7 separate regions of the Homo sapiens genome follow, and regions 2, 3, 4, 5, 6 and 7 are each linked to region 1. Evidence: promoter capture Hi-C in 16 types of primary human blood cells and fetal thymus (Javierre and others, 2016). All regions are on one chromosome and are shown on one strand. Each heading gives the region's core, a stretch centred on a gene start or on the middle of the fragment in contact. The rest is flanking DNA. Distances are from core to core; before and after follow the strand shown. Region 1 holds the start of HSDL2 (hydroxysteroid dehydrogenase like 2). Region 2 overlaps UGCG (UDP-glucose ceramide glucosyltransferase). Region 3 overlaps SNX30 (sorting nexin family member 30). Region 4 overlaps UGCG (UDP-glucose ceramide glucosyltransferase). Region 5 overlaps SNX30 (sorting nexin family member 30). Region 6 overlaps SNX30 (sorting nexin family member 30). Region 7 overlaps SNX30 (sorting nexin family member 30).

What was found. Contacts are between HindIII fragments. The CHiCAGO score rates a contact against its expected background, and 5 or more counts as called.
Region 2: a contact is called between a fragment that was not itself captured here and the fragment with the promoter of HSDL2 in region 1, in 6 of 17 cell types (neutrophils, erythroblasts, megakaryocytes and 3 more). The highest score is 7.3, in neutrophils.
Region 3: a contact is called between a fragment that was not itself captured here and the fragment with the promoter of HSDL2 in region 1, in 2 of 17 cell types (naive B cells and total B cells). The highest score is 5.7, in naive B cells.
Region 4: a fragment that was not itself captured here is called in contact with the fragment with the promoter of HSDL2 in region 1 in 1 of 17 cell types (fetal thymus); the score reaches 5.2 in fetal thymus.
Region 5: a contact is called between a fragment that was not itself captured here and the fragment with the promoter of HSDL2 in region 1, in 3 of 17 cell types (naive B cells, total B cells and megakaryocytes). The highest score is 8.0, in naive B cells.
Region 6: a contact is called between a fragment that was not itself captured here and the fragment with the promoter of HSDL2 in region 1, in 5 of 17 cell types (total B cells, naive B cells, fetal thymus and 2 more). The highest score is 8.9, in total B cells.
Region 7: a fragment that was not itself captured here is called in contact with the fragment with the promoter of HSDL2 in region 1 in 1 of 17 cell types (megakaryocytes); the score reaches 5.2 in megakaryocytes.

What each region holds. Positions count from the first base shown.
Region 1 is chr9:112,378,051-112,382,476 of GRCh38, forward strand. HSDL2 (hydroxysteroid dehydrogenase like 2) reads left to right here and starts at 2,058. Exons shown (of 11, transcript NM_032303.5): 1 at 2,058-2,130. The coding sequence starts at 2,114. It also overlaps a transcript of PTBP3 not described here. RefSeq lists enhancers at 1,242-1,291, 1,392-1,641, 1,641-2,240, 1,672-1,791 and a silencer at 2,012-2,261. The HindIII fragment of the contact is 10,070 bases long and covers 1-4,426 here.
Region 2 is chr9:111,898,579-111,903,004 of GRCh38, forward strand. The region is part of intron 1 of UGCG (UDP-glucose ceramide glucosyltransferase); the gene reads left to right. Among named protein-coding and RNA genes, the nearest start is that of UGCG, 4.0 kb to the left of the region's middle. The HindIII fragment of the contact is 2,433 bases long and covers 1,355-3,787 here.
Region 3 is chr9:112,832,453-112,836,878 of GRCh38, forward strand. SNX30 (sorting nexin family member 30) reads left to right here. Exons shown (of 9, transcript NM_001012994.2): 5 at 3,762-3,957. Among named protein-coding and RNA genes, the nearest start is that of SLC46A2, 56 kb to the right of the region's middle. RefSeq lists a silencer at 743-943. The HindIII fragment of the contact is 691 bases long and covers 2,162-2,852 here.
Region 4 is chr9:111,921,906-111,926,331 of GRCh38, forward strand. It overlaps UGCG (UDP-glucose ceramide glucosyltransferase), which reads left to right. Exons shown (of 9, transcript NM_003358.3): 3 at 944-1,046; 4 at 2,872-2,973. Among named protein-coding and RNA genes, the nearest start is that of MIR4668, 8.0 kb to the right of the region's middle. The HindIII fragment of the contact is 2,245 bases long and covers 1,002-3,246 here.
Region 5 is chr9:112,813,212-112,817,637 of GRCh38, forward strand. The region is part of intron 2 of SNX30 (sorting nexin family member 30); the gene reads left to right. Among named protein-coding and RNA genes, the nearest start is that of SNX30, 65 kb to the left of the region's middle. The HindIII fragment of the contact is 3,254 bases long and covers 845-4,098 here.
Region 6 is chr9:112,790,416-112,794,841 of GRCh38, forward strand. All of the region lies in intron 1 of SNX30 (sorting nexin family member 30), which reads left to right. Among named protein-coding and RNA genes, the nearest start is that of SNX30, 42 kb to the left of the region's middle. The HindIII fragment of the contact is 5,421 bases long and covers 1-4,426 here.
Region 7 is chr9:112,769,891-112,774,316 of GRCh38, forward strand. The region is part of intron 1 of SNX30 (sorting nexin family member 30); the gene reads left to right. Among named protein-coding and RNA genes, the nearest start is that of SNX30, 21 kb to the left of the region's middle. The HindIII fragment of the contact is 1,085 bases long and covers 1,436-2,520 here.

The DNA of each region.
Region 1 (4,426 bases), core at 808-3,307:
TCTAAGCCAAAATTATTCACCTTCCAAAATGAAGATCTAATTATGTTCACAAGTCCTCTCCTTCACCCATTCCTCACCTCTAGCATTAATCTAACACTAGGTTAATCAAGGTAATGGGGTAGAAGGTCATGGGTAACTCCAAATCACACTTTAAATGAACTCTAGTCAAAGTACTGAATACAATGGATTTAAACTTGCTTGGTAAAACTACCTCTAATAATTTAGGAATATATTTGCCTTCTGTGAAAGCCATCGCAAAGTATAAAAATAGTGTAAGTACAGGTATTTAGGCTCACAAAATATCGTTATGACTGAAAAATTGGCAAAGGTTTTTTGTTTGCTTTGCCTCTTCGTTGAGCTCTCTTTCCGTAACAAATGGAAATAGAAGCACACAAATTCAAGAAAGGAGGCTCTAACAGACTGAAGATATTGTGGCTTTCAAAAAGGAGAGAACATTTTAGATGATATGAAGGAAATGTCACCCCGTTACTAAGAATTCACTCTATTCGACAGATATATACACGCTTCAGCAAGTGCTCCTAAGGATGAGAGGAGAGTAAGTTATTTTCATCTAACAGTCTCTATCAACACTCTTCTTAAAACACCTAATGCTTAACAACAGTCTAAAGAACACACTGGCTACTCATACCTCCCATAGGCAGAGACCTTGTCCTTTTTGAGCTGCTGTATCTCAGGTAATCAGCAATCACTTAGTGGATGATAATAATTTGCAAATTCCTCTGGAGCCTCTAAAGACCGTATCATGAATCATCAATTCAAATGCCTACAGGAGTCGGGCAGGTGATATGCAGGAGGAAATAGAGTCATTTAGGGCCCATAACAAAGGGGAGAGAGGCCGGGCGCGGAGGCTCACGCCTGTAATCCCAGCACTTTGGAAGGCCGAGGCGGGCCAATCATTTGAGGTCAGGAGCTCGAGACCAGCCAGCCCAACATGGCGAAACCCCGTCTCTACTAAAAACACAAAAAAATTAGCCAGGCGTGGTGATGCATGCCTGTAGTCCCAGCTACTCCGGAGGCTGAGGGAGGAGAATCACTTGAACCCGGGAGGCGGAGGTTACAATGAGCCGAGATCCGCGCCACTGCACTTCAGCGTGGGCGACAGCGAGACTCCGTCTCAAAAAACAAAACAAAAACAAAGGAGAGAGTACATAAGCCATCTCCAGGCTAGTTTCTTTAACTAGTCTTCATATAATAATCTCCTCAAGGTCCTGTTCTATCCCTACAAAATACAAAACAGTTCCTCGTGTCTTCCTTCAAATATACTACAGTCTTTAGCTCATCAGAGTAGCTGAGTTAGTCCAAGGCATAATCCCAAAAGCGAAACTGAATGTCAGAATTGATCTCATTTCAACACTCATTCCAGAAGTAGAAACTTCTGCAAGTTCAGCTTTTGACTATGAATTCTTCAGCGCGACTTTTGCAGAGAGCTCTGTTCCAAGAAGCTGGCGCCTTAACACAAGCTATCTACCGATGCACAAGGGAAGGCTGGCTTGGGTCCAGATTCGGCGGGAGAGTGGAAACGCGACGCTGGCCGACTTCAGCCACAAAGGCAATTTCTGCCCAGGGCTAGCGTTCCTAAGAGGGGGCCGAGAGAACGCCAGGCTCGGGCGTAGGGGCAAGAAGACCCAGAGCTAACGCACCTCTCGGAGGGCCCAAGCTCAGGGCTCAGTCACCCTCCCAGCTCGGAGCCGGCGCTGGAACACAGCGGCGCGAGGAGAAACCCCTAGAGACAGGGAAAAGGTGGACGTAGCGGCTGACGCTGCCCAGACGCTAGGCGCCGACAGGAGCCTGATTGTCACCGTACGACCAGTGAGGGGGCGGGGCGGAGCTGTGCCTCAAAGCGCCTGCGCGGAGAGCCTGCAATCAGGGACCAGGCTTGGGAGGCGACGAAGAGGAACGCTGGGCGCAGGAGGCCCACTGCATACGCAGGCGCACTCGGCGATCCCGGCTTTTCCGCGCGCAGTTCCCGCACAGGCATCGGGGGGGGCAGGGGCGGGGCAGGGGCGGGGATAAATGCGGAGGGACGGTCCAGCTTTAGCTCTCTGCTCGCCGCCGCCGCTGTCGCCGCCACCTCCTCTGATCTACGAAAGTCATGTTACCCAACACCGGGTAAGGGGGTAGGGGCGGCGCGGGGAGAGACCCTGTCGGGCGAAGGGCGCGTCTCGGTGGGGCCGCCGCGGATCGCCCGGGCTGGCCGGCCCGGCTGTGGGAGGTCAAGGATACTGCCTGGGCACGCTCTGAGCTCTGGTCCGCGCTGGGCACTGTGCACCGAGAATCTGCGGTAACGTGTGAAAAGGAACACAAACTTTTGTATTACAGGATGGCAGCAGTGTAGAAACCTTTTCCACGGGTAAAGGGCCGAGGGGGAGTCACCACGCCGCCCCCAGTGCCGGCCCTCCCTGAGTTTAGCAGGAGTGCGTGCCTGGCCGAATGCGTGTGAGTTCTAGGTGAAAGGTCGCAGGAGCAGCTCCAGAGTTTAAAGAGTTTTCACTTGTTCCTGACGCTCAATTCTAGAGTAATAATGGAGTGTTTAAAAAATGATTTCCAAATTAGAAACTAAACCGATCTTAAAACATGGGTATCTTTGGGGGATTTTTTTTTCACCTTAAAAAATTGTGTTAAAATACGTACAAAATCTGCCATCTTAACCGTTTTTTAAGTGTACACTTCAGTAGTGTTAAGTAGATTCATATCGTTGTGCAGTCAATCTCCAGAACTTTTTTCATCTGCAAGCTGAAACTCTATCCATGAAACAACTCCTCTTCCCCACCTCCGCTCGTACATTGGCAACCACCATTCTACTTTCTGGTTTATGTAAGGTCTGGGTATCTTGAGTTGAGTGACGTGTTGTCAGATTTTGTAATTTGCCTGAAACATGCAGGCATATAGCCAAAGACTTAAAACAGTTCAAAGAGTATAGGGTAAAAAGTGAGTCTCCCCATCCCTAAAATCTAGTTCCCCAGTTACTTACGTTTCTATTTCGTGCATGTATGAACATAATTTGTATACATCCGGATACACACACACACACACACACACACACACATACCCTTTCTTAAAAATAGCAGCAGACTCTATTCTTGGTCTTGCTACTTTTAGTTGGTATGTCTTGGGACATTCTTTCTTTGTTTTTTTTAAAGACGGGGTCTCCCATGTTGCCCAGACTGGCCTGTAGCCTTGAACTCCCAGGCTGATGTTCCTCCCTTCTTAGCCTCTGGAGTATTTAGGATTACAGGCATGCACCGCTGTGCCCAGGGACATACATTTTTAGTACATGGCAGATCTTCCGCCTCCTTTTTTTTTCTTTTGAGATGGAGTCTCGCTCTGTCTTCCAGTCTGGAGTGCAGTGGCATGATCTCGGCTCACTGCAGCCTCCGCCTCCCGCAATTCTCCTGCCTCAGCCTCCCGAGTAGCTGGGACTTCAGGCGCGTGCCACCACGCCCTGTTGATTTTTTTGTATTTTTAGTACAGACGGGGTTTCACCATGTTAGCCAGGATGGTCTCAATCTCATGACCTCGTGATCCGTCTGCCTCGGCCTCCCAAAGTGCTGGGATTACAGGCGTAAGCCACTGCGCCTGGCCCCTCCTCCTTTTTAATGGTTGCATAATATTCTGTAACAGCTTGAGTATCCATTATCCAAAATGCTTGGTTCCAGACGTGTTCGGATTTCAGATTTTCAGATTTGGTTTGCTCAACCTGTATATGAATATACCTTTGTTTATTTAACCTGTTCCCTATTGTTGGATACTAGACTGTTTCCAGTTTTTTGGATACTCTTTTTTTGCTTCCATAATTATACTTGTATTTATCTATTTGCACATATATAAGTGTATATGTAGGATAAACTCCTGGAAGTGAAATTGCTGGATCAAAGAGTAAATGTGGCTGGGCACAGTGGCTCACGCCTGTAGTCCCAGCACTTTGGGAGGCCGAGGCGGGCGGATCACTGGAGGTCAAGAGTTCGAGACCAGCCTGGCCAACGTGGTGAAACTCCGTCTCCACTAAAACTACAAAATTACAAAAATTACAAATACAAAAATTAGCTGGACCTGGTAGCGGGCACCTGTAATCCCAGCTACTCAGGAGGCTGAGGCAGGAGAACCGCTTGAACCTGGAGGCGGAGGTGGCAGTGAGCCGAGATCATGCCACTGCCCTGCCCTCCACCCTGCGAGAGAGAGTGAGAGTCTGTCTCAAAAAGAAAAAAGAGGAAATGCACTTTATATTTTGACAGATATTTCCAGATGACCCCCCAGAAGGGTTGCACACCCAAAAGGATAAATGAGATCCTCTAATCCCACTTGTTGGCTAACCGCAAAATAGTTAATGATGAAAATCTAATTAGAGAAAAAAGTGTCACCTCATTATTGTTAAAATTTGCATTTATTTTATCACAAGTGTGGATTT
Region 2 (4,426 bases), core at 1,321-3,820, 480 kb before region 1:
GTTGGTGAGCTTAGTCACAGCACATTCTGGAGTTCATTTAAAATATGTGAGTTCTTTTTCTTTAAAAAAATTGTTACTTTTTACCGTCATAAAAATAAAAAATGCTTACTGTGTAAGGAATTTATGCAATAGAGAGAGATGGAGAAAATTAAAATATGCACACACCAAAACTACATTACCTTGTTAACCTTTTGTGACTATCCTTCCAATCTGTGTGTGTGTGTGAGAGAGAGAGAAGGAGGGAGGGGAAGAGGGAAGAGAGAAAAGGACTATATTATGATTATTGTTCTGTAACCTGCTTTAAAGTTCATCTGTTTAATAAATGTTTATTGAAAAGCCGTTTTGTGCAAGGCACTGTTCTAGTTGCTGGAAGAGTGAAGAACAAACATACAAGGCCCCTGTTCACATGGAACTGTCCTGTAAAATGTCTTGACCGTTTTTTGCATGTCAATATCTGTATGATCTCTACATCATTTGTAATAGATGCATGATATTTTAGTTTACCAGGTACCAAGATTTATTTATTATTACTGATGGATGTTTAGGTTGTTTCCAATTTATCTAGATTACAAAGAACACTGTGATGAATTTATATGCATACATCTTTGAGAAATGATCTCATTTATATTTCCGAAAGAGGAATTATTGGGCCAGAAGTGGTGCACATTTTAAACTTTGATACATATTGGCCCCATGGAAATGTTATGTATATTCACAGTCCTGGTAACATTGTATGATGGCCCCATTTTGCCTTACAAACACTAAGTAGCAGGCATTTCACTGTTTTCTGTTTCTATTTTCATTCCTTTAAAGTTACATTGAGCACTTTTAAAATATGTTTATATGCTAGTTACATTTAGATGTAAATTACATACTCATAATCCTTTGCCTGTGCTGCAATCTGTTGCTGAATTCATCTTTCTGATATAAAGGTTGTTTTCTGTCACATGTAGCATTCTTTTCCCCAGTCTGTTTTTTGTCTTTTAACTTTGTACATATATTTGACATGGAGAAAAGTGTGTGTGCATGTGTGTTTTAGGTAGATAGGTCTTTCCGTTTCTTTTACATTTTCTAACTCTGTTATAATTTTTATATCTTCCTTATTCCTCCAAATTATTATATATGTTAGTCTCTGCTTCCTCTTAGTATTTTTTTCTTAATTTTTTCACATATTACCCTGAATTCACCCAGTATTTTACTTCGTTATATGAGAGCTAGAGCCCTAATTATAGTTTCTTCTAAATATTTAGAGACTTGTCCAGAATTACTTATCAGATGATTATTTGATTATTCCACTGTTTTGAAATATTTTTATTATAAACTAAATTCTGCTTTATACTTGGGTATGTTTCAAAGCTTCTATTGCCCTTTCTTAACCTATTTTAGATGGCAGATGTTTGTAGGATTTCTGCCAACAATGTCAAAGGTAACATTCAGATTAGAGACATTTCAAATTCAAGAGTCTTATTGTTGAGATTGAAGATTTCCTAAAAATAACTAAAGAGTATAGCCTTGGCAAGTTAAATAGCCTTTATGGGTTAATTTTTTTTTTTTTTTTTAATGGTAAGTGCTAGTGTGGCTTGATAGGTTGGGGCCTAAGGTGAAATTGTATAAAAGCCTAGACCTGATGGTAGTGTTTCTCTTCTAGCCCTTGGGAGCCACGTTGCTGCGTGATGAAGTGATCTAAGCAGAAACCTTGCTTCATGCTCTCTTCCCTATCCCATCCACCTCATATTATTATTATTTCCCTGTGTACATAAGGTCCTAATGTTTATCATCAGGCTTTATCTTTCGACTGGAGGTGCTAGGCTAGTGTGGAAATAATTTATGTGTCCTTAAATATTAGCTACCCTCAAGTAAAACAGAGGTCCTTTTTTACCTGGAGGTGTATATGTATATGTGTGTGTGTGTGTGTGTGTGTATTCTTTCTTTGATACAGGGTCTTGCTCTGTTGCTTAGGCTGGAGTGCAATGGCACGATCTTGGCTGACTGCAACCACCGCATCCCAGGCTGAAATGATTCTCCTGCTTCAGCTTCCTAAGTAGCTCCCAAGTAGCTGGGACTACAGGCATGCCTGGCTAATTTTTGTGCTTTTTGTAGAGACAGGGTTCTGCCATGTTTCCCAGGCTGGTCTTGAACTCCTGGACTTAAGTGATCTACCTGTCTTGGCTCCCAAAGTGCTGGGATTACAGGTGTGAGCCATCATGCCTGGCCCCCTGGAGATTTTTTAAGTTTTTTTTAAAGTTAATTCTGCTTTCTACAAACGTATTTCCTTTATTTTGTTTATTGTTATTTTTTTGAGACAGTCCTCTCTGTTGCCCAGGCTGGAATGCAGTGGCTCGATCACGGCTTCACATCCCAGGCTCGAGCAATTCTCCCACCTCAGCCTCCCAAGTAGCTGGGACTACCGGTGCATGCCATCACGCCCAGCTAATTTTTGTCACCCAGGCTGGTCTCAAACTCCTGGGCTCAAGTGATCCCCCCACCTTGGCCTCCTGAAGTTCTGGGATTACGGGCGTGAGCCACTGCGCCCAACCCAAATATGCTATCTCTAATGTACAGCAACTTCAATACCTGATGCACAGTTTTTGAATGGAATTTGCATACTCATTGTGTCAGGATAACTGCGATAAACTACCCGTCAAAAACTGGTTATGTTTTTCATGTAAATTTTAGCATTTGGGATATTATTTTTAGTTAGTACGATCTTTGCCTTAAATTCATGAATACTTGGTGTTCCAAGCCTTAGTGGAATGTAAATTGAGAACGTCTTTTTTGGGTTTAGTCCTGCCAATGCCCTTGGACTGTGGTCAAACGTTCATCAGTCAGGATCATTGCTACAGGGCTACTTTCAGGGAAATGAATAAGGCAGTCCAGCAATTCAGCCCCTTTAACCTGAGCCTGGGAAGATACGGAATTAGACTATAGTGTGATAGCTTTAAAGAACAAAGTGAGGGGCAGTGTGGGGAGGGAGAGCATCAAGAAGAATAGTTAATAGATACTGGGCTTAATACCTCGGTGATGGGATGACCTGGGCAGCAAACCACCATGGCACATGTTTACCTACGTAACAAACCTGCACATCCTGCACATGTACCCCTGAACTTAAAAGTTGAAGAAAAGAAAAAGAGCAAAGTGGAAATTGCAAGATTTTAGTATTCAGTGATGGTTCTATTGATTCATTATCCCTGCCTTTCTCTCTGACATTAGTTAGTTCAGCACACCTTCATATCTATCCTAGATGTTGAAGCTATGTCTACTCGCTGGTATCTCTAGCTGCAGCCTTGTGCCCCCTCGATTTTATATTTCTTATTGTAGCCTTTATCCTTCTGGATTACTAATCTTGGATCACAGTAGCTTAAAATCTTACCATGAATCCTCATTGCCTCCGGGTTACAGTTCAAACTCCTTAATGAGACAAGCACAGCTCTGTAGGAGCTGAACCAGCAACGTTGTATTACTGGCATTTCCCCAAATGTACAATGTGCTTTCTTTGGAATTGTCTTTACTTTCTTTCTTTTTTCTTTCTCTTCCTTCTTTCCTTCCAAAAATCTTGCTTAATTAACTCCTACTCGTTCAAGTCATTTTAGACTTTAGTTCCTTATTGGGTTAGGTGCCCCTTATGGCACCCAGCCATCTCCTATTTGTTTTCTATGGTGGTGGAATCTTCTACATTCTATAGTGTAGTAAGCCCATTGTCCAGTGGGCAGAGTTTGTGTTTTCCTATAGAGCTAACTCACTATTGGTTATTTTACCTTCTGTGAGAGAATTTGTGTTAGCAAGGTTAAGCTTGCACAAGAAGGTGTGCTTTATATTGCTTATGAAGCCCATTTTGAAGCAATACCATTTTTGAAATAAGTGATACAGGTAGTAAATTGGTCATGATATACTGATTATAAACAAACAGTAATATAGTCATGAGTGATAACAATAACAAAGGTCATTAGTCACTGGAAATTGCTGGCATGGACTATGTGAAGTTAGGGACTTGCTGATATAGCAGTGAACCTAATTTTACACGAAATACTAACAAGCTTTGTGACTTGGAGCAGGGAAGATAAATTCCTAGAGTCAGATAAATTGGTTCAGCAGAACCACACAGCGGAATTATAAAAACAACACATTCTGGGGTTGTTAAGCAAGGTGAACTTTTGCCCTTGTGGAATTCATATTCTTCCTTAGAAACCTAGAGTGAAATTCTCTCTTTTTTTTTTTTTGAGACAGAGTCTCATTCTGTTGCCCAGGCTGGATGGCAGTGGTGCGATCTCGGCTTACTGCAACCTCCGCCTTCTGGGTTTGAGTGATTCTTGTGCCTCAGCCTCCCAAGCAGCTGAGACTACAAGCACGTGCCACCACACCCCGCTAATTTTTGTACTTTCAGTAGAGGTGGGGTTTCATGATGTTGGCCAGTCTGGTCTTGAACTCC
Region 3 (4,426 bases), core at 1,257-3,756, 450 kb after region 1:
AGAGAGAGTGTGTGTGTGTGTGTGTGTGTGTGTGTGTGTGTGTGAGAGAGAGAGAGAGAGGAGATTTATCTATCTGTGGGCCAGGCAGTATGAAAATGACTTAAAAAATATAAGGTCCTTATATGAGAACACATGGACACAGGAAGGGGAACATCACACGCCGGGGACTGTTGTGGGGTTGGGGGAGGGGGGAGGGATAGCATTAGGAGATATACCTAATGCTAAATGACGAGTTAATGGGTGCAGCACACCAACATGGCACATGTATACACATGTAACAAATCTGCACGTTGTGCACATGTACCCTAAAACTTAAAGTATAATAATAAAAAATTTAAAAAAAATTAGAAAAAATATATATTATATATTAATATATAATAAATATATTAATATATAATATATAATAAATATAATATATATAAAATATCTATATATATAAGGTCCTTTACTGCCTTAATCAAAATCCGACTCCATATGAGTGAATACAGGAGAGGTGGCTTTAAACAGAACAAATTTTAGCCCTAATTCAGTATCGCTTGCTGAACAAAATGTGCTAAATGGCCTTATCTTTTCTTTAAAAATTTTTAAAATTGTGATAAAATACACCTAACATTTACTATCCTAACAATTTCTAAGTGTACAGTTCAGTAGTGTTAAGTATATTTAAATTAGTTATGCAGCTCATCTTCAGAACGTTTGCATCTTGCAGATCTGAAACTCTATGCCCATTAAATGGCAGCACCCTATTCCCCCTCTTCCAGCTGCCTCATTTTTTCCTTTAACATACCTTGAATAACTTGATCTTGTTCTGAGATGAGCCACTTACGTGTTCTGCCTTAGGGAATGCAGAGACGCTCTTCCTTTTCTTTGTGATCACATGAGTTTATCAACAAATTAGAAATGTCCTTAAGAAGAAGCCAAAAGGCTGTATGTAATGGCTCATGCCTGTAACACCCAGCGCTTTGGGAGGCCAAAGCAGGTAGACCACCTGAGCCCAGGAGTTCATGTTCAGTCTGGGCAACATGGTGAGACCCCATCTCTATATATTAAAAAGAAGCAGCAGCAGCAGCCAGTAGTAATACTGGGAGAAATGGGGACGCTCAATAGCAACTATATTCAAGTCAATATTTTCATCTTTGGCAGAGTGGGTACAGCAATCAGATGGATACTGCTGAATAACTTTATTCAACATGTAAATTAACTTGGTTAACGGGGACACGCTTTCAAAGCTCTACTTGAAGCGGAGCCTGTGCAGTCCAGCGAGCCCATTTGACTCTAGTCCCACTCGTAAAAACGCTGTCTGCAGAGGTAATTCCAAGAACTCTGAGGCTTCAGTTATAGTCTTGTGAAGGCCTTGTGCCTTTGAGGATGTTTCTTGTCTAGAATGTGGGAGGTCAGAAGGGGAGATGGAATCTTTAGGACACTCTCTCAGGCAGCCTGACTCTGAAGGAAACGAGAGAGGTGGAGAGGAACTAGAGGAGATTGCTGCTGTTTTTAAGATGGGTCAGCCTTGGGTGTATTTTACATGCTGAAGGATTAGAAGTTGAAGATACAGACAGGAGAGGGGATAATTGGTAGGGCAAGGCCCTCGGTTGGGGGAAGGTATGGATAGGTGTTCCAGAAAAACTCTCAAACCATGGTTTTCCTCTGCTCTCAGGCAACAACAGTTGTCATCAACACAGGAGAAGACTTCTGTGACCAAATTGCGGGGTGGGGGTGGGGGCGAGATTTTCCCCAAACACCAAGCAGCCATTGCCAGCTGGATGTCCACCAGTTTAATTTGCACATTATTTGCCTGGACATAGCATCAGATCCCACAGGTTGAGGACTCAGTCCTCAAGTCTGAGAGCTTCCAGATCTCGGACCTTAAGTTCAAGCCTCCAAAACTTCTGACCAGCCAGCTTCAAGTTGGGCTTCCCGTGACCTCTTCTTTGGGTTCCATTAATTTGCTAGAGCAATTCACAGAACTCAGAGAAACACATTTACCAGTTTATTATAAATGATATCACAAAGGATACAGATGAAGAGTTGCATTGGGCGAGGCGTGGGGGAAGGGGCGTGGAACTTCCATGCCCTCCCTGGGTGTAGCACCCTTCAGGAAACTCCACATGTTCAGCTCTCCAGAAGTTCTCTAAACCCAGCTCTCTTGGGTTTTTGTGGAAGCTTCGTGACAGCAGCATTCCATCCTCCAGGGTGTAGGGAGGGACCTTAGTCAGAAAGGCTGGGGAAGATTCGAGTCCTGCCTTGGGGCAGGTGAAAGGAGGGCAGGGGAAGGACAGAGAGATTCTGTTTCCTGAGGCTTAACACACCCAACATTATAGTGAAAAGACTGGAACAAGGTCTGTGGAGGTTATGAGCCAGGAACCGTGGATTAAACACACACACACACAAACACACACACACACACACACACACACACACACACACACACCTACCTCAATAGGAAAGGCTGGATCAAGAGCAAAAATGAAGGCCTAAAGAAGGAAGCGAAGAAGGAAGTGAATTCACGAGGTGCCTACACTCAGATACTATAGAGACCTCAGCCTGAAATTGTACATCAAATGCGGAGGGGCTGTTGGGCCATGTTAGCCGCACATTCCACATTCTCTGCTCTATCCTCTGCATCAGGCCACGTCACCAGAAAGCTGTGTCCTTGTTCTGGGTTCCTTTATCTCCCTCTAGTTATACCCTTCTAGGTCTGGGGATTAACATTCTGTTTGTATTGAGGGTGGATATGAGGAACAGACACCTGTACCTTCTGTAAAACCATTTTGTAAGCTACCCTTTCAGTAGGTGACACAGGACAACCTGAAGATTGTATAGATTCCTCTTAGTGTTTGATGATAGGAGGAAGCTTGTTTTATCAGGCAGGCTAATATGCTTTTCTTTTTTGCCCAGGCTGGAGTGAAGTGGCACGATCTCAATTCATTGCAACCTCTGCCTTCCAGGTTCAAATGATTCTCGTGCCTCAGCCTCCTGAGTAGCTGGGACTACAGGTGCATGCCACCATGCCCAACTAATTTTTTTTTTTTTTTTGTATTTTTAGTAGAGACAGGGTTTCACCATGTTGACCAGGCTGGTCTTGAACTCCTGACCTCAAGTGATCTGCCCACCTCAGCCTCCCACAGTACTGAGATTACAGGCATGAGCCACCATGCCTAGCCTGGCTAATAAGCTTTATATTTAGATACAATGGGTTATGAAACTCAACATATTTCCAGTTTTGCCTTCAAGAAATCCAGGGTTAAAATGTTTTGCTGTTTACAGCATCCATCCTAGGCCTGAGTTTTCTAGCAATGTTTTTCTGCCACTGTTTCCTGCTTTCCACCCTTTACTCCCCTTATATGGCTTTAGTTGGGGTATAAATAAATGAGTGATGGATCTCGGAACCTCTGCTCTTCAGTTTTGCTTGTAAAGACAATATAGGGTACTTTGTATGGGAGAAACAGATACTTAAAAAAAATTATGTTAGAAACAGCATTGTGTTTAAAGGGCAGTGTGCTCAGGTGAGTGAATTTGATTAAGGATTGGCGTTCAGCTCTGCTGAAAGGGATTTAAGTGTCAACCTACAGGAGCCTGAGTCTGGTGGTTATGACGTCCAGGCCAGGTTCCTCCTGTGAATGTGATTAGAGCCTCTAACTCAGCTCCTTGTTTCCCGAGTTCTCCATTTCCAAACTGAAGCTGCTTTTAGAAGCTGTTTTATTTAGTCCTGCCCATGTGAGTGAGTGAGTGCTTTGAGCTTATTCACATATCATCCTCAGGACCTGAACGCCTACAAGAAGCAAGGGATAGCATTGCTGACCAGAATGGGCGAGTCAGTCAAGCACGTCACTGGCGGCTACAAGCTGAGGACTCGGCCGCTTGAGTTTGCTGCCATAGGTGACTACTTAGATACATTTGCACTCAAACTGGGAACCATTGATCGAATAGCCCAGCGGATCATCAAAGAAGAAATAGGTGAGCTGTCTGTTGAGGTCTCGATTATGCCCTGCAGCCACATTGGCAGAAATGCCATTCATGTGTGCTACAGAGAATCAAACTGCAAAATGCTGGAGTGACAGAACTAGGCCATCTTTTGCTTATCAAAGAAATACAAGGAGGGGAGGAGTTACTTGTGACTGGAATGTCACTTTGCACCCCGTCCTTTGTCCTGCTGTGTCAGCCTTGTGTTTGCTTTTCCCATGGCCAGCACTGCTGATTCGCCAGGTGTTTCCTCTTTTATGCTCTCTTAACTTTAGCTTTAAAAGTGGAGACATAGACTCAACTGCCCTTCATCCATAGGGAACAATAATTTAGTAAACAAACTTAGATACCTTTTCTGGCAGAAAGATGGTTCAGAAAGATAGCATGGAGACCTGTGTTTGCCAAAGTTATGACCCTGATGAATCTTCAGACTTGTAATTGACTCACCCACCCCACCGTGGTT
Region 4 (4,426 bases), core at 874-3,373, 460 kb before region 1:
GGCTCAAGCAATCCTCCCACCTCAGCCTCCCAAGTAGCTGGGACCACAGGCATGCCTCACCATGCCCAGCTAATTTTAAAAATTTTTTGTAGAGACAGGGCCTCGCCTTTTTGCCCAGGCTCCTCTCGAGCACCTAGGCTCTAGCAGTCTTCCCACCTTGACCTCCCAAAGTGCTGGGATTACAGGCATGAGCCACCGTGCCCAGCCCCAGGGTAATTTTGTCACAGCTGGGCAAGTGTTAAGAAATGCCTTTCTTAATTTACTGTTAAAAATCTAAACATAGCACTGGGCAAAATAAAGTTGTAGGTATTTTCATAGTTACAAGGCTAAGCATGCATTTCAAGATCGTAAATGTCCATTCAAATCAAATTCTGTTTTGTTTCAAAAAGTTATGAAACAAAAAAGGGTAATCTTACTTTGTCCTTTTCATGTGATGAATTTGGAAGGGCCCTTTAAATTTATTATAATGGGATTTTATATGAAATTTGTTGCACCTTCATGAAATAATATTAAGTATAGAGACAAAGCTTCTAGAGAGAGGTTGTGTTTATTTTGCTTCCTTTTGATGTCACTTTTTACTCTGCTAGGCACCCTGTGAGCAGTTAGTAAATCTTCAGTAGTGATGGCCATGGACAAGCTTGAGATCCAGTTAATGGAGATTAACTAGGAGATTCCTATCTGGGAATGGCAAGACTGCAGTTGTGGGCACTGCCAGTCTCTTCCTTATTTATTCTGCTTGCAGATAGGCTCCTAATTAGAAGCTTCACTCCATTAAAGCAACACTTGTTATCATAAGTGTTTGCATCCATTGTGAATGCTCTCTTTTAAAACTTTGCATAATACAGTTGCTTGTTTTTTCCTGTGCTTTTTGTTCAATCAATACATGCTAGTAAGTGCTTATTTTTTTAAAGAATTTAATTTACATACAATGCTTTTTGACTAGTATGAAGTGCTCCTTTGTGTACAAGATCATGATGATCCAGCCATTGATGTATGTAAGAAGCTTCTTGGAAAATATCCAAATGTTGATGCTAGATTGTTTATAGGTAAGTAACAAATTCTGTAGTAACCATTTTCCATTGATAGTATTAAGTATCAGTAATCTCTGCATTGAACTGAAGATTAAGGTGTTAGCCATGTTTGTTTTAAACATGTTTGTTGGAGTACTGAGAGGTGTTTACGTCCTTTTGAGAAAAGTTATAAAAACAAAGGTTTTTTTTTTTCATATCTGAGATGAACAAAATCACACACAAAATAATATTTTTCCCATTAATCAGACATGAGGGTCTGTTATTTTTTGTTTCTTCAATATTTTAAATGTGTGGCCTTTTCTGTATCTTACTGACTATAATTGGAGTGAATGATAGAATTCACTTTTATTACATTACAAGAAGGGTATTTTTCCAAAAGCCTACAGGCTTATTTGAAAGACTTGTAGAGGTGTGTTTGCCATTAGTGTTTTTTTTTTTTTAACATAGAGCTGATGTGGTCTCTCTAAAAAACCAGTAAGTCGTATAAAATGATATCAGATCTTTGCTATTTGAAGATCGGGCAATGATTTAAATTTTTTATTAGCTTAAAATGCAAATTTGAAAATTAATATAAGTGTAGCATGCCTACGAATTAATCAGGACCATTACAAATCTATCAGCTCATGGTCAGAGATGCTCATTCTTCACATGTGCTATCTTAAATTATTTACTGTCATATATTTATGGGGTTTTTTTGGTTTTTTTTTTCTTTGATACGAATTTTTTGCTCTTATCACCCGGGCTGGAGTGCAATGGCACAATTTCAGCTCAGTGCAACCCCTTCCACCTGGGTTCAAGCAATTCTCCTGCTTCAGCCTCCTGAGCAGCTGGGATCACAGGCGTGCATCACCACGCCCAGCTAATTTTTTTGTATTTTTAGCAGAGACAGGGTTTCACCACGTCAGGCTGGTCTCGAACTGCTGACCTCAGGTGATCCACCTGCCTCGGCCTCCCAAAGTGCTGGGATTATAGCCTCCCCAGTAGCTGGGATTACAGTCAGGCACCACCACGCTCAGCTAATTTTTTTGTATTTTTAATAGAGATGGGGTTTCGCCATGTCATACTGGTCTCGAAGTCCTGACCTCAGGTGATCCACCCCCCTCGACCTCCCAAAGTGCTGGGATTACAGGCGTGAGCCCATGGTGCCTGGCCATGTGTGTTTACATTTAATAAACCTTTATTAAATATAATCTTACTGTATTTATGAATTTATACTGTTTTAATTATAGCTTCAAAATAACGCCTGTAGCTTTTTCCCTTAGGATTATTTTTTAAATTGACAAATAAAATTTGTATATATTTTTGGTGTACAGCACGATGTTTTGAAATATATATATATGTACACATTGTGGAATAGCTAAATTAAGTTAATTAACATATGCATTACCACACATATTTATTCATGGTGGGAAATCTCTCTTAGCAGTTTTCAAGTAAACAACATGTTGTTATATACTTTCTCATGTACTTATACTTTATTTGTGGTGAGAAATCTACTCTTAGTCATTTTCAAGTATACCATACATTGTTGTTACCTATAGTTGCCATGTTGTACAATTGCCATTAAATATTGACTCATACTTAACTACTAAGGCAAGGACTTAAGAATTAGAAAAAGTGAAACAGTGAATTTTCAAAGATAAATGATACAGTTTTCCTTTTGAGAATGGACAGTTTTTTCCTAAATATATTATTATGAATAATAGAGAATGTTAAATAATATGAAAGTATGTTTAATTATTAAATATGCAAGTATTCTCATTTCTATCATGTATCTTTATACTATAAAATATTTTTAATGTTGCATAAATCTTTTACTACTGTACCTTTACATTTTTAGGTGGCAAAAAAGTTGGCATTAATCCTAAAATTAATAATTTAATGCCAGGATATGAAGTTGCAAAGTATGATCTTATATGGATTTGTGATAGTGGAATAAGAGGTGAGGTTTTTTTCTTATTTATTTTATAAAACTATTAATTTGAAGATAAAATGCTAAAAGCAATCTCAGATACATTCATGAGTTCTTTTTATTTGCCTAAAAGAGTAATTTATTTCATCATCATTTCATGGTAATATGTCCAGTTATGCTTACTAAGATTTTGATTTTTTTAATCCTAAACTAGAATGTTACATGTATTAAAATGTTTTCATTTTGAAGAGAAAATTTCAACCATTAAATTAAAAATGGTTGTGGTTCATTATATAATCTGCAAGCTTTCCCATGGGTGTAACTTTTCCCTTGTTTGCCTGACACTTATCTTTAATGTGTTTCGGCTTGCGTAATACACCGTCTCACAAAGGGACAGAAATTAATAGGTGCATATTTTACTAAAACACATACACTTATCGGACTATACACATGACTTTTTACTTAAATGATTTTAGCAAGAAGCCTTTCATATACTGAAATTATAACTTGCATTTTCGAACACTCATAATAGTTTCAGTGTTCTATAATATTTTCTTATATTCTAATTGCCTTAAGCTTCTCAACCCCAATACTGTTCACATTTTAGGCTTTGTTGTGGGAGCTGTCTTGTAGGATGTTTAGCAGCATGCCTGGTCTCTACCATGAGATGCCAGTAGTACCCCCTTCTCAGTAGTAAAAGCAAAAATATCTTCAGATGTTGCCGGATGTCCCCTGTGGGGCAGAATTGCCCCCAGTTGAGAAGCACTGACCTAGAATGAGTATTTAAGGTCCAAATACAACTTTTCTTTATACGGTAGATTTAGTTCTTAAAGACTTGGAGGAAATGAAAAATAAGGTCATGTAAAAATGATATGAGATGTTTGCTAAAGATTGGGCAATAATTTAAATTTTTTATTAGCTTAAAATGCAAATTAGAAAATGAACATAAATGTTGCACTCCTATGAGTTAATCAAGACCATTACAGATCTATCAGCTGGTCAGAGATGATGTTCATTCTTCATATTTGCTATCTTAAATTATTTACTATCATATGTTTTTCAGTGTACAGATCTCTGTTCAATATAATCACGTTCCATTCCTGTGTGGAAATCTGATACTCACAGAGAAAATAGTCTCATTTCCTATGGTTGGAGAGTAGAGAAGCCAGCACGAGAACTGAGGTCCTTTAGCCTCTGCTCCTGAGCCTTTTCCACTAGGACAGATTGTCCTTATTCCAAATTAGAAGTTCCAACAGGGGGTAACTTTTTCAAAGTATATTCTGCCTCTGGTACATAGTAGGTATATACTGGGCTAAAAAATGTATAAATTAGCTTTCGAGAATTAGGCCCTTTTGAAATTTTGTATTCTCCTCAGAAAGGTGGTTGAGATTCATTTTATTAGATCCATATGTTTAAAATAATGTATTTTATTAAGAATGTAATAACAATTCACAAAATATATTTTATATTAATGGGCATTCTA
Region 5 (4,426 bases), core at 1,222-3,721, 440 kb after region 1:
CCATCACTTTGGAAGGCTGAGACAGAGGATTGCTTAAGGTCAGGAGTTAGAGACCAGCCTGGGCAACATAGTGAGACGCCTATCTCTACAAAAAAAACAAACAAAAAAACCACCAAAAATCAGCCAGATATGGTGGCATGTGCCTGTAGTCCAGGTACTTGGGAGGCTGAGGTGGGAGGATTGCCTGAGCCCAGGAGTTTGAGGCTACAGTGAGCTATGATTGTGCCACTGCCTTCCAGCCTGGGGGACTGTATTTAATTTTTTTTTTTTTTTTTGCGAGACAGTCTCACTCTGTCGCCCAGGCTGGAGTGCAGTGGCGCGATCTTGGCTCAGTGTAACCTCTGCCTCCCAGGTTCAAGCAGTTCTCCTGCCTCAGCCTCCAGAGTACAGTAGCTGAGACTACAGGTATGCACCACCATGCCTGGCTAATTTTTGTATTTTTAGTAGAGACAGGGTTTCACCATGTTGGCCAGGCTGGTCTTGAACTCCTGACTTCAAGTGATCCGCCTGCCTCGGCCTCCCGAAGTGTTGGGATTACAGGCATGAGCCACCACTCCTGGCTCTTATCTAAATTTAAAAAAAAAAAAAAAGTCTTACCAACAAAATTACTGACAGCCATAGAATAAATATGCCATAATTTCATTAATAGTTTTTAATTATTGAATATTTAGGTTGCTTTGATTCCTTGCTGATTTAAATAATATTGCAATGAAGATCATTATGCAAATATCCTTGCCACAGTTTAGACATTATTTTCCAATGGTAGATTCCTAGAAGTAGAAAAGCAGTGATTAGACATAACTAGAAAAGAAAATCATAGAGACTATAGGTGAATATTTTTATAAGCTTGCAGTGGGGATGGCCTTCTTACTGAAGACCCCAAAAGTAGCATAAAGGGCAAATATGGATGAAATCAACAATAAAACAATGGAAAGATTCTGTATCAGACAAACCATTTGGAAATTATGATAGGCAAATGGTAATAAAGAACTTACACAAATGAAAAAGACTTGACTCAATTTTTATTTTTATTTTTATTTATTTTTTGAGTTGAGGTCTTACTCTGTGGCTCACACTGGAGTGCAGTGGTGCAGTCTTGGCTAGCTGTAACCTCTGCCTCCCAGGCTCAAGCGATCCTCCCACCTCAGCGTCCTGAGTAGCAGGGACTACAGGTGCATGCCACCATGCCCGGCTAATTTTTGCATTTTTTGTAGAGACAGGGTTTTGCCATGTTGCTCAGGCTGGTCTTGAACTCCTGGACTCAAGCTATCTGCCTGCCTCGGCCTCCCAAAGTGCTAAGATTATAGGCATGAGCCACTGCGCCTGGCTGGACTTATAATTTTTAAAAAGACCCCTGATAAAAGAAGAAAAATACTTTTCTTCTTTTGGCCAATAAACATTTGAAAGGATGTTCAACCCCAATAGTAATTAAAGAAACAACTGTAAACAAAGATGATGTATTATTTTTCATTTATCAGTCCACCAAAGATAACTAGTTCCTGAGAATACGTGGTAAGAATATAAATTGCTATATTTCTGAAAGCAGTTTGTCAATTAAAAAGTATATGTACACTTTTGTCCAGCAATTCTATCTTTAGGAATTTATTTTAAGGGAATTACGAGGTGCTCAATGGTGTTTACAAAAGTATTGTTTATTGATGGAAAAATTGGAAACAACTTAAATGGGGATTTGGTTTAATTATCGTGTAACCATTCAGTGGAATACTATGTATGTGTTAAAATGACTGTACATCTGAACTTACTGCTGCAGAAAGATGTCCAAGATGTGCTAAAAGAGATACAGACAATGAGTAAATGAATGAATATGCGTAGAAAAATATGGAAACATATAAACCATGTTAATTGTGTTTTTCTGTATTTAGAGGGATTATGGCTGATCTTTTATTTTCTATTTATTTTTCTTGAAGTTTTAAAATAAGTATATAACCCGAATAAATAGAAGGAAAAAAAAAAAGCCTGTTCCCCAAAAGTGAAATTGGTTGTGGCAAAAATAAAACGTGTGTTCTATTGTGCTGTCTTTTGTAGTTACCAAAAATGATTTCAAATTAGAGTAGAAATATTACATAAACTGTAATTTATGAAATGGATCTGAAAAACATAAGAGAAATGATCAGTTAATAGTGTAACTTTTTTTTTTTTTTTTTGAGACAGGGTCTCTTGCTCTGTTTCCCAGGCTGGAGTGCAGTGGTGCAGTCTTGACTCACTGCAGCCTCCCCCTCTGGGGTTCAAGCAATTCTTATGCCTCAGCTGCCTGAGTAGCTGGGATTACAGGCACCCACCACCACAACTGGCTAATTTTTGTATTTTTAATAGAGACAGGGTTTCACCATGTTGGCCAGGCTGATCTTGAACTACCGACCCCAAATGATCAGCCCACCTCGGCCTCCCAAAGTGCTGGGATTACAGGTGTGAGCCACTGCGCCCAGCCAATAATCGTGTAACATTTAAGAAGGCAAAAAGTAGAGCCTTCCATCAGTTTGGTTTACAATGAAAACCAGTTGCTTTAATTTGTCACCTTTCAAAATATGTCTTTCATTAGCCCTTAATCATTGGCAAGTTCTCACATGGAGCCTATCGGGGGGAGATGGGAGGTCTTGAACTTCCCTTCCAACCTGCTTTTGTTTTTTTGAGACAAGGTCTCACTCTGTCGCCTAGGCTGAAGTGCAGTGGCACAGTCAGCTCACTGCAGTCGTCTCGACCTCCTGGGCTCAGACAATCCTCCTGCCTCAGCCTCTGAGTAGTAGGGACTGCAAGTATGCACTACCACACCTGGCTAATTTAAAACTTTTTTTTGCAGAGATGGGGTCTCGCTATGTTGCCCAGGCTGGTCTCAAACTCTAGGGCTCAAGCTAATCCTTCCTTCTTGGCCTCTTAAAGGGCTGGGATTACAGGCATGAGCCACCACGCCCTGCCCTAACTCTCTTCTTACTGTTGAACCTAGGGCTCAAGGAGGCTTAGTGACATGTTAGGGATCTGGTAGGGATGCAAGAACTGCATAGGCGCAGAGTCCTTCCTACTCCGCCTGTGCGGGTGGTGTGGGGATGGGAGTATCAGGCCACTTGTTCCCAATATTTCTGTCATGCTGTGCTTGAAAATTTGTCAACAATGACTTGCTCTCTGGATTTAAGTGTTGTCTTTTTTCCTCTCTCTCCAGTCCTACAATGCTAGTTCCTTTGGGAAAATCATCTGATAAGTCACAAATACCTACATTGAGTGAATTTCCCCACATCTTCACCCTTGCAAACACAGAGGAAGGTCGTGTTTCATAGGCATATGCTGGTGTGTGGGACTTGAAGAGGGGAAACAATGCAGTTAGTTGGGGGTCAGTCCAAGAATGAGTCCTTGAACTTCACCATTTTGCTAAGACAGTGAACACAGGTTTTGGGGAGGATGAAATCATAATTTTTGATGCTAGAGCTGTTCACAGCTTTTTCTTTGATGAATGACTCTCGTTCATGTGCTTAAAGATTTTCTTGGTGCTGTGAATTAAAACAGACTTTTGGCTTGAAAGAGTAAATTTATGAGATGTAGCTTGACCCATTTTTATCTTGTACTTTAATTTCTGAGAACCATGACAGTCATATAGTGTGTATCCTCATAGGGAAAAATGGCTTATGTGAGACACGGTGTAATTTGTGCCAGTAAATGAGTAAAAATCTTGTTTTGGTAAAAATCAACTCAATTTTATTTAACATTGATTTTCATTATTAAAGTGCTGCAATCACATTTCAGAAAACTTTAAAAATTGAGAAAAAGGGATGAGATTATTAATATTTTTCTGCAATGCAATGGCATTTTTGTATTATTTCTAGATTTTTTCTTATCTGTCTAAAATATAACAGTTCCAGGGTTGTGGTTTGGCAGAATGTGGCAAATTAAGCAAAACCTTTTCTATTTTCATCTAATCTGCCCCCGAAATGAGCAGTGATCTATTATCTTTACTTTTTGTTTATTTCCTCTTTGGCAAAACTTGTCAGCATATTTAGCAGAAGGTGGAGACAATTTCTTTTCACAGATTTGGATTTAGTAGCAATATCCTAAGTGGATTTTTTCTGCTAAAAGAAATTGTTAGAGTTAAGCTTGGAGGAAATGAATCAAATGTTTCTAAACAATTCTGGGGGATAGTTGAATTCTATTTCCTGACGGTAGGGAAAAAAAAAAAAACTGGCTTTTTTTTTTTTTTTTTTTTTTTTTTTTTTGAGACGGAGTCTCGCTCTGTCACCCAGGCTGGAGTGCAGTGGTGCAATCTCGGAAAACTGGCATTTTTATTCCAGCTCGTTGAATTTTTAACTGGGCTAAGTGTCCCAGACTGGTCTATTCTGTGTTGGTAAACTCTGCCATTTGGCTGTTGTGTTTGGTGGAAGGAAAATATGATCTTGCCTAGTTTGGTTATTCTAAGAGCTTT
Region 6 (4,426 bases), core at 944-3,443, 410 kb after region 1:
TGGCCCTCTCCTGCAAGTCTTCCCATTCCAAAGGAGCAGCCCCTGTTTGGGACACACTACTTTCAAAGTCGAGGAGCAAGGGAGCTGGTGGAAGCATGCGTTGGCTCTTAAAGGATCTGCTCTGATCCGATGTACATTCATGTACCATGTACCAGTGGCTGGAGCAAGTCACGTGTCCAAGGCCAAAGTCAGTGTGGTGGGGATGTGTCTTCCTGTGGGAAGTCACTTGGCAATAAGAAGAATATATGATCCTTTTAAAGGATGGGAAGTTCATAATTATGAACACTAATGCAATCTACCATATAGTCTTTGTCCTCCACTTCTTTCCCAGAACATTTAGTAAATATAGCAGTTCATGTTTACCATTTAAAAATGCTTTAAACACATTTGCTCCCTATTATGTATATTACAAATTTTAGATAATTTGGGAGGAGCCTGACCTATTGCCATGAACTCATGTGGCAGATCACTGTATGAGTTCAAGTATTCTTCTCTATATTATTGCGGTAACTAGACTTTCCAGAATGGTTTTGAATTATGGCAAATACTTTATATCTGAATGTAGTGGACATGGCTTTGTGATTTAAAAGGTCTTCATTTTTAAAATATGTCCACTACATTTTTTATTGTTTTATTGTTATTGGAGATAATTTACAGAGCATGAAATTCACCATTTTAAGGTATATAATTGAGTGTATATTCACAGGGTTGTGCAACCATCATCGCTATCTAATTTTAGAATATTTTGTCACCCCAAAAAGAAATTTGGTCTTTATTAAGCTGGCTCTCCCTGTTCCCCCTACCTGTAGCCCCTGGCAACCAAGTCTGCTTTCTGTCTCTCAGGATTTGCCTGTTCTGACATTTCATATAAATGGAATTATATAGCATGTGGCTTTTCTCATCTAGCTTCGTTCACTTAGAATAATGTCTTCAAGATTAATTGCTGATGTTTTCTGATAAATACTTTTAAACATATTTAGGAACTTTTTTTTTTTTTTTTTTTTTTTTTTTTTGAGACGGAGCCTTGCTCTGTCGCCAGGCTGGAGTGCAGTGGCGCAATTGCGCTGCTCACTGCAACCTCCGCCTCCTGGGTTCAAGCGATTCTCCTGCCTCAGTCTCCCAAGTAGCTGAGACTACAGGTGTGTGCCACCACGCCCAGCTAATTTTTGTATTTTTAGTAGAGATGGGGTTTCACCATGTTGGCCAGGCTGGTTTCAATCTTTGACCTCGTGATCCACCCGCCTTGGCCTCTCAAAGTACTGGGATTACAGGCATGAGCCACTGCACCTGGCCGGGAACTTTCTTTTTACTTCTTAATTTTACTTAGAGATTTAAATGGAATGGCTGATATGAGTGATGCCAGTAAATATTTTGGTAGTTTTGGACATGAGTATCTTCAACAGTGGTTGAAGTAATGTATATTAATGTAATATAGTGTAATGAAGTAATGTTATTAATGTAATAAATTGTATTGATAAATTTCCTAATGTTAAATCATTCTTGCTTCCCTGGAATACATTTGACTTGATCCTGGTATATATTTTTTTTCCAAAAATTCTTTTAGTGTACTGTTAGTTGTTACTTTATTAATGATGTTTATGCTTGTTCTCAGTTTTCTTTTTTGTCCTAATATTTTGATACCGGATATAGATAGTCATCATGAAATGATTTGAAAGGTTTCTGCATTTTAAAATTATGTCTTAGAATATTTGAATAAAGTAGGACTTACTCTTTGAAGGTTCATGAGTGCTCACTGTGAAACACTTGGGACCCAGCTTACCTCTTCGTGGATGTTCTCTGACAACAGTTTTGTGGTTATTTATCTGTTTAGGTTTTTTCTCTCTATTTAATTTCACCTTGATCACATAATTTTTCCTAGAAAGCCAGCTAGCTCATATAGATGTCCAAATTTGTTGGCATAGTTATTCACAGCACAACCTTTTAATTTACAATCATACATAGACACAAGTTCTAAATAGTTATTGCCTGTTCCCTTTTTCCATTTTCCTCTTTTTTTATTTTTTATTGAGACAGCATCTCTCTCCGTCGCCCAGCCTGGAGTACAATGGTGCGATCTCTGCTCACTGCAACCTCTGCCTCCTAGGTTCAAGCAATTCTCATGCCTCAGCCTCCTGAGTAGCTGTGACTACAGGCTTGAGCCACCACGCCTGGCTAACTTTTTGTATTTTTACTAGAGACAGGGTTTCCCCATGCTGCTCAGGCTGGTCTTGAGCTCCTGGGCTCAAGCAATCCACCTGCCTCGGTCTCCCAAAGTGCTGGGATTATAGGTTTGAGGCCACTACACCTGGGCCATTTTCCTTTTTCTATATTGTTCAGATTTCCTAAGTTTTAGTTTATCTGATTCATCTTTCAGAAGAATTAAATTTTGCTTTTGTTTATAACTTTTGTTCTTTTCTGTTTTAATTTATGCTTTCATTTTTAGATTCTCTTTCCACTTTCTTTAGGCTTTTTTTTTTCTTTTTCTTTTAATGGGAACACAGAGTAAGTCTGGCCTAAAGGGTTCTGTTTTATGGGCTTCATCTTTTTCAAATGCATGTTTATCTGTTATTGAGGACTCTTGCTTTTTTTGTGTTTTGGTTTTCTTAGGTCTGAGTGATGAGCTAATGCCATTTTGAGTTGTTTTTATGGTTTACTTGCCTCTGATGAGATAATAATTCAGACCTGCTATTTGCCCCCATCAGAACAAGTGGATTATATTGGATCCTCTGTGTTTCTACTTGATGTTGTTAGCATTGTCTTAGATCCATAGATTACTAGTTATCTGTCAGATGGGAAAGAAGCCTGGCTTTCTCTGTGTTTTAGCTGCTCCCCCCATCTCAGTAGAGCTCAGTCCCCCCAGCATTTGCAGTCTGGCCTGCTTTGGGCTTGTTGGACACACCCCAGGGCAGCCAACCCAGATGCCTTCATGTTCCTATGAGCTGCTGCTTCCATCTCTACCCATCATGCGGGGGGAGAAGGCCATGTGGGCGGGGTGCCCTCTGCTGGTGGCCCACACTTGGTGTATTTGCCTGTGCTTGGCATCCCCTTGGTCACAGTCACAGCAGCCAACTCCTTGGTGGTCCTGGATTGCCCCACTGCCAAACCTTCCATGTCCTCTACTCCCCACTGACAATCACACTTTCAAATTAGCGTGCGTGTAAAGGGGGTTCAAGGACATTTTCTACTTATTAAGTAACCTCAATAACCTGAAGTAACTTCGGTGACATGGGTTAGATTCCTCTGGGTTCTTTTTTCAGTTGTGGCCCAGGTAGAACCAGTAGACAGCCTTTGAGACCTTTGGCATTTGGATGGCACCCTTTCCTCATTTCCAGTATTGATATGACTCCAGTCACTGTTTTTCTTGTTCTTTTTACCTCCACTGTTTTTTGTTTTTTTTTTTTTCTTTCATTCTCTAGGTTAAATTAGTATCTGGAGGGTGGAAAAAGGGAGAACGCAGAGGCTTGTGTTCAACTCACTGAGTTTATCTAGAGGTCTAGCTTTCTAATTTTTTAAACAAGTGTGTCACATTACACATACAAACATGACCGCTTCCTGGTTATTGAGCCTTTGGGATTTTTCTAGGTTTCACTCTGTGTTCTTTGTATCATGAACATCTTTGAACAGAACATTTTTGAGATTATCCCTTTGAGTTTATTCTCCAAAGTGGGCTTAGCTTTAGTTTTACAACAAAATCAACAATCAAGAATATTCAGTTTGTATAGAACACATTCATTCATTTTTTTTCTTTTTTTTTGAGATGGAGTCTTGCTCTTGTCGCATAGGTTGGAGTGCAGTGGCGTGATCTCAGGTCACTGCACCCGCCGCCTCCCAAGTTCAAGCAGTTCTCCTGCCTCAGCCTCCTGAGTAGCGGGGATTACAGACGTGTGCCAACACCCCTGGCTAATTTTTGTATTTTTAGTAGAGATGGGGTTTTACCATGTTGGTCAGGTTGGTCTTGAACTCCTGACCTCGTGATCCACCCGCCTCGACCTCCCAAAGTGCTGGGATTACAGGTGTGAGCCACTGCGCGTGGCCAACACATTCTTTAAGCATCTGCTGTGTACCTGGCACGAGGGGGGTAAATTAAGAAAAGTAATATGCAGTCTGTGTATTCAGAGAGCCATCATTTTACCCTTAACGTAAAGATGCCTTGAGAGGCTTTGTCAGGCTCCTCTGAGACTAGATCATTCACTTGCCCATATTCCTCCAATAGAATCAAAAAGAGAAATTAGATTGTTTTAGCATAACTTATTTTTATTAAAACTATATTGGCTCCTAGTCTATACCACTCTCTTCATAAATCATATGTTTAATGTAATATAAAATTTTGCCAGTGATTTATGTTAATTTAATATTCTGTCTTGTGGCTGGCTGACCATAATGGTGTATCTTAAAATTGAAATTCTTTGAACCAGAGGAGTTTGTA
Region 7 (4,426 bases), core at 728-3,227, 390 kb after region 1:
GAATTAGCCTCGGCTCTTCCCTTTTTCATCCCATACCTAAGCCATCAGCAAGTGCTTCTGAAATACCATGTCCAGAATCTCATCACTTCTCACTCTCTCCACTGCTGCTACCCTGACTGCTGTCATCCCCTCTTGCCTGCATTACTGTACCAGCCGCCTGACTCGTCTTCCTGCTTCCACCTTCCCACCTTCAGTCATATATCCAGGCAGCAACCGGAGGGATTATTTAAAACATAAGAAACATCAGTCGCATCATGTCTCTTGCTTTTTAAATTTAATTAATTAATTAATTAATTTTTGAGATGGAGTCTCACTCTGTTGGCCAGGCTGGAGTGTTGTGGTGCGGTTTCGACTCACTGCAACCTCTGTTTCCTGGGTGCAAGCAATTCTCCTGCCTCAGCCTCCCGAGTAGCTGGGATTACAGGCACCTGCCACCACACCCGACTAATTTTTTGTATTTTTAGTAGAGATGGGGTTTCACCATGTTGGCCAGGCTGGTCTCGAACTCCCGACCTTGTGATCTGCCCACCTCGTCCCCCCAAAGTGCTGGGATTACAGGTATGAGCCACCGCGCCTGGCCTCTTTTTTGCTTTTGCTTGAAACCATCCAGAGACTTCTCAGTTCTCACACATTCCCCTCAAATCCTCCATGGGCTCCAAGTACATGGGTAATCTGGCTCTGCTGCTTCTCTGGCCTCCGTCCACTTCTCTCTCCCCCTGCCCACTCCCTTGCCTCACGCCTTTTGGCCCAGACAGCCTGCAGGCTTGTTCATCTATTTCATTCAGGCCTCCCCCAACCTCCCTGTATAAACTAGTAGCAGCCCCTGGCCGGGCGCGGTGGCTCACGCCTGTAATCCCAGCACTTTGGGAGGCCGAGGCAGGCGGATCACGAGGTCAAGAGATAGAGACCATCCTGGCCAACATGGTGAAACCCCATCTCTACTAAAAATACAAAAATTAGCTGGGCGTGGTGGCGCGTGCCTGTAGTCCCAGCTACTCAGGAGGCTGAGGCAGGAGAATCTCTTGAACCCAGGAGGCAGAAGTTGCAGTGAGCCGAGATCGGGCCACTGCACTCCAGCCTGGTGACAGAGTGAGACTCTGTGTCAAAAACAAACAAATAAACAAACAAACAAAAAACAAACTAGTAGCAGACCCCTCCCTGCCCAGTTATTCTCCCCCTTTACCTGGCTTTAATCTTGCTTCGCAGAACTTAAACCACCAGACATACTTGGTTTACTTTCTCCAGTACTGTGCTGTAAACTTCTTGAAGGCAAGGGGCCTGATCTGGTTTGCTTATTGCTAAATTTCCATGCATGAACCAAACCTGGTATGGGTGGAGTATACAGATATTTGGTGACTCAATAAATGGACCCGTGCTAAATGCTGTGTGTATAAGGATACCTGTTGCAGTATTATTTTTAATAGCAAAAGATAAAAGCTTATATGGCTATTAGTAGGGTGCTGGTTTTGTAAACTATGGTAGTTTTTGAAATGTGGTATTAAAAGGAATAAGGCAGCCCTGTATATACTTATATGCAACAATGGAAAAAAACGTTAAGTTGAAAAAATGTATAAATCGTGTATAGTCTGTCTTGCGTGTGTGTGAAAGAATTTATGTCAGTATGTCTGCCAGCCTTGGAAGGATGCAGCATTGCTGTGTCAGAAGGGTCCTTCTCCCAGCCTTCAAGAGTATAGTCTCCCCGGGTGGCTATTTGACCAAATTAGGGAGAAAGAATCTTCCCTCTCTCTTTCTAATTTGGTTAATAATGGTTGATACCAAACAAACTCTGATCATGCTTCAAAAAAAGGGGCCAGTGAGGGCTCTCACTCATAGTCCTGTTGAGCAGTTATGACTGTTTTTGAGAAGGGATAACAGCCACATTTTCATAACTGCTCAAAACCCCAAAGAGATAAGGCTAAACTGTGACAAAGGGAAAAAAGAGACAGTGCTTTTCTGGTAGTTTTTCAAATCTGTTCAGGTCAAATATGGGTGAATGTTGGCTTGTGGTGAGTTTTACCCTTTCCCTCTGTGGTCAATTTTGTGAACTTTTTGTTCTGGCTTGAGACATTCTTTTTTTTCCTGGTTCAAGTCATGGAGCAGGGGCAAACCTTCGGTTGTTTCACAGTTGTCCAGACTTTATTGGACCCCATTTCATGCCCTTGCCCTCATCCTTCCTGGCAGAGGACTTTCCTTGCCTAGAACATTGCCAGTCTCCGTGAAAGAGGAAGAGGTGTTTTCAGCCCGGTGACGTTAGCTCTGTTCTGGTTTCCTTTAGAACAATCCTTATTCTAGTGAGGGGTTACTCTAGCTTCATTTCAGTTTCTCCCCAGAGAGAGGAACGACCAACTTGTCAACAAGTGGAAATGGAAGAAGTGTTTCTGGGAGGTGGCTCTGTTGGGGATTAGACTGACACCTCTTTGTAAGAGGATGCAGTTGAGTTGCCTTCACTCTTCTGCTGTAACCAGATCCTCCTCTCCAGGTGTGCTGGGAGACCTGGCACATTATTTTAGGTATTCTTGAAGCTTTTTGAGTAACCTAGAAAGTATCTCATATAGTATGATAGGCTAGACATTGTTTAGATTTGTGGATTGACAGGTGTGGGGCTGTGGTACTCGTGTGTGCGTGTGGAGATATCTAGGCGTGTCTCCCCTGCCATGGTTTGAGCAAAATGGTCACATCTTCACTTCCAGTCTGACTCTGAAGAACAAGGTAGCCACTGTATTTTGCTTTTCTCAAATCATTCAAATTCTCTTAGATTTTGCTGTACCCAGTACTGAGTGTGAGTAGAAAGGGTAATGTTTATTAAAGATACATTGCAGTATCCCAAGATCGTAAGTTATGAAAGCAATGTTTGCATTTCACATAAACCAGTTTTGTTACTACATAAACGAATATGTCTTCAAGTGTTGATCCTGGCGTGTTTGCTCCTTGATTTAAAACAAAAACACATTTCCCATTTTAAATTCTCCTTGTGTTTAAATTATGAAAAGGCTACTTGAAAAGTCTTGCTATTGATTTATTCGTGAATCAAGGAACTTCCCAGCTATCTGTAGATTTGTGGTGTTGCAGTAAATGGGTCAAGAGAATCTGTTAATCTGTTAATTGTGAGAAACAATGTTGCCAGAAGCTAAATGAATAAAGCATACTTACCACCTCTTGTTCCAAAGCAAGGAAGCACACTGTGTAAAGAAGTTGAGAATTGTTAGAGAGGTTGGTTAGAGCAATGTAGGTGTGAGGCCGTTGCAGCTGCGTAGAGAGAATAGAGCCTTTAGAGTTGGCCAAGGGAGTTCTAATATAATCACTTACTGGCTGGCAATCACTTACCTCCTCTGAACCCTGTTGTCCCATCCATAAAATGGGGTTAATAATAGTACCTGTCTCATAAGGTTGTTTTGATAGCTTAATAAGGTTATGTACAATAGGGTCCAAAATCTCTTCTCATAACTGATAGTCATAACTCATATGAACAACATACTTTATATGGCTACAAAGAAGATTATTTGCTTTTTTTTTTTAAGAGATAGGATCTCGCTTTGTCATTCAAGCTGGAGTGCAGTGGCGTGATTGTGGCTCACTGCAGCTTTGAACTCCTGGGCTCAAGCAATCTTCCCAAGTAGCTAAGACTTACATATATTTTGATAGATACTGATAGTAGGAATAGGTGCATCTTGAGGTGTGTGGTGTACCTTAAATATTCAGAAAGTAAAAGATGAAAGAAAAGGAAGAATGCTTTCTAGAATAGTAAGATTATATAGTGAGACTATGATAAAACTCAAGGCATATGGGGAAGGGGAAACAACCAGTTCTGCAGAAAGAGTACATAAATTGTGGAGAAGAAAATCCTGAGTGAGCTAGGATTCATTTACTATAAATTATGACTTCAAGGCCAAATTACAGATAGCCTTAACAAATAAGCAGCTCACAATAAATATTCACAATTATGTTATATTTATATTACCATGGATCTGATTATAGTAGAAATGTTCACGTCTTCTCCTTAATTTGATTTTCATTTTGTTTCAATAAGTAAATTACTCTTGGCTCATTCAACATGATGATGCTGAAAAGAAAAGAGGAATCTTTCTATGTGACCTGTTTGTCTTCAGAAGAAAGGTTTATTTCACTGGCCAGAAAACAGAATTCTCTCCCAGAGGAAATGGATGAGAGAAACTGGACTTAGGAAGTTCATATTCCATTCATTTATTCATCAAATATTTATCAAGTGTCGGGCACTGTGCTAGGTGCTGCTAGCCAAATCCCCACTGGAGAGTCTGTTGCATTTCAGGGCTTTTCAGGTTTCTGTTTCTCTTCTTCTACCCCAAGATTAAAAAGAGCAGTCTAAAACAGTGGAGAAAAACCTGAAACCAAAATTGGCTCTTTGAAAAAGAAATCAAGAAAAATGACAGACCTTTAGCTAGATTGACTA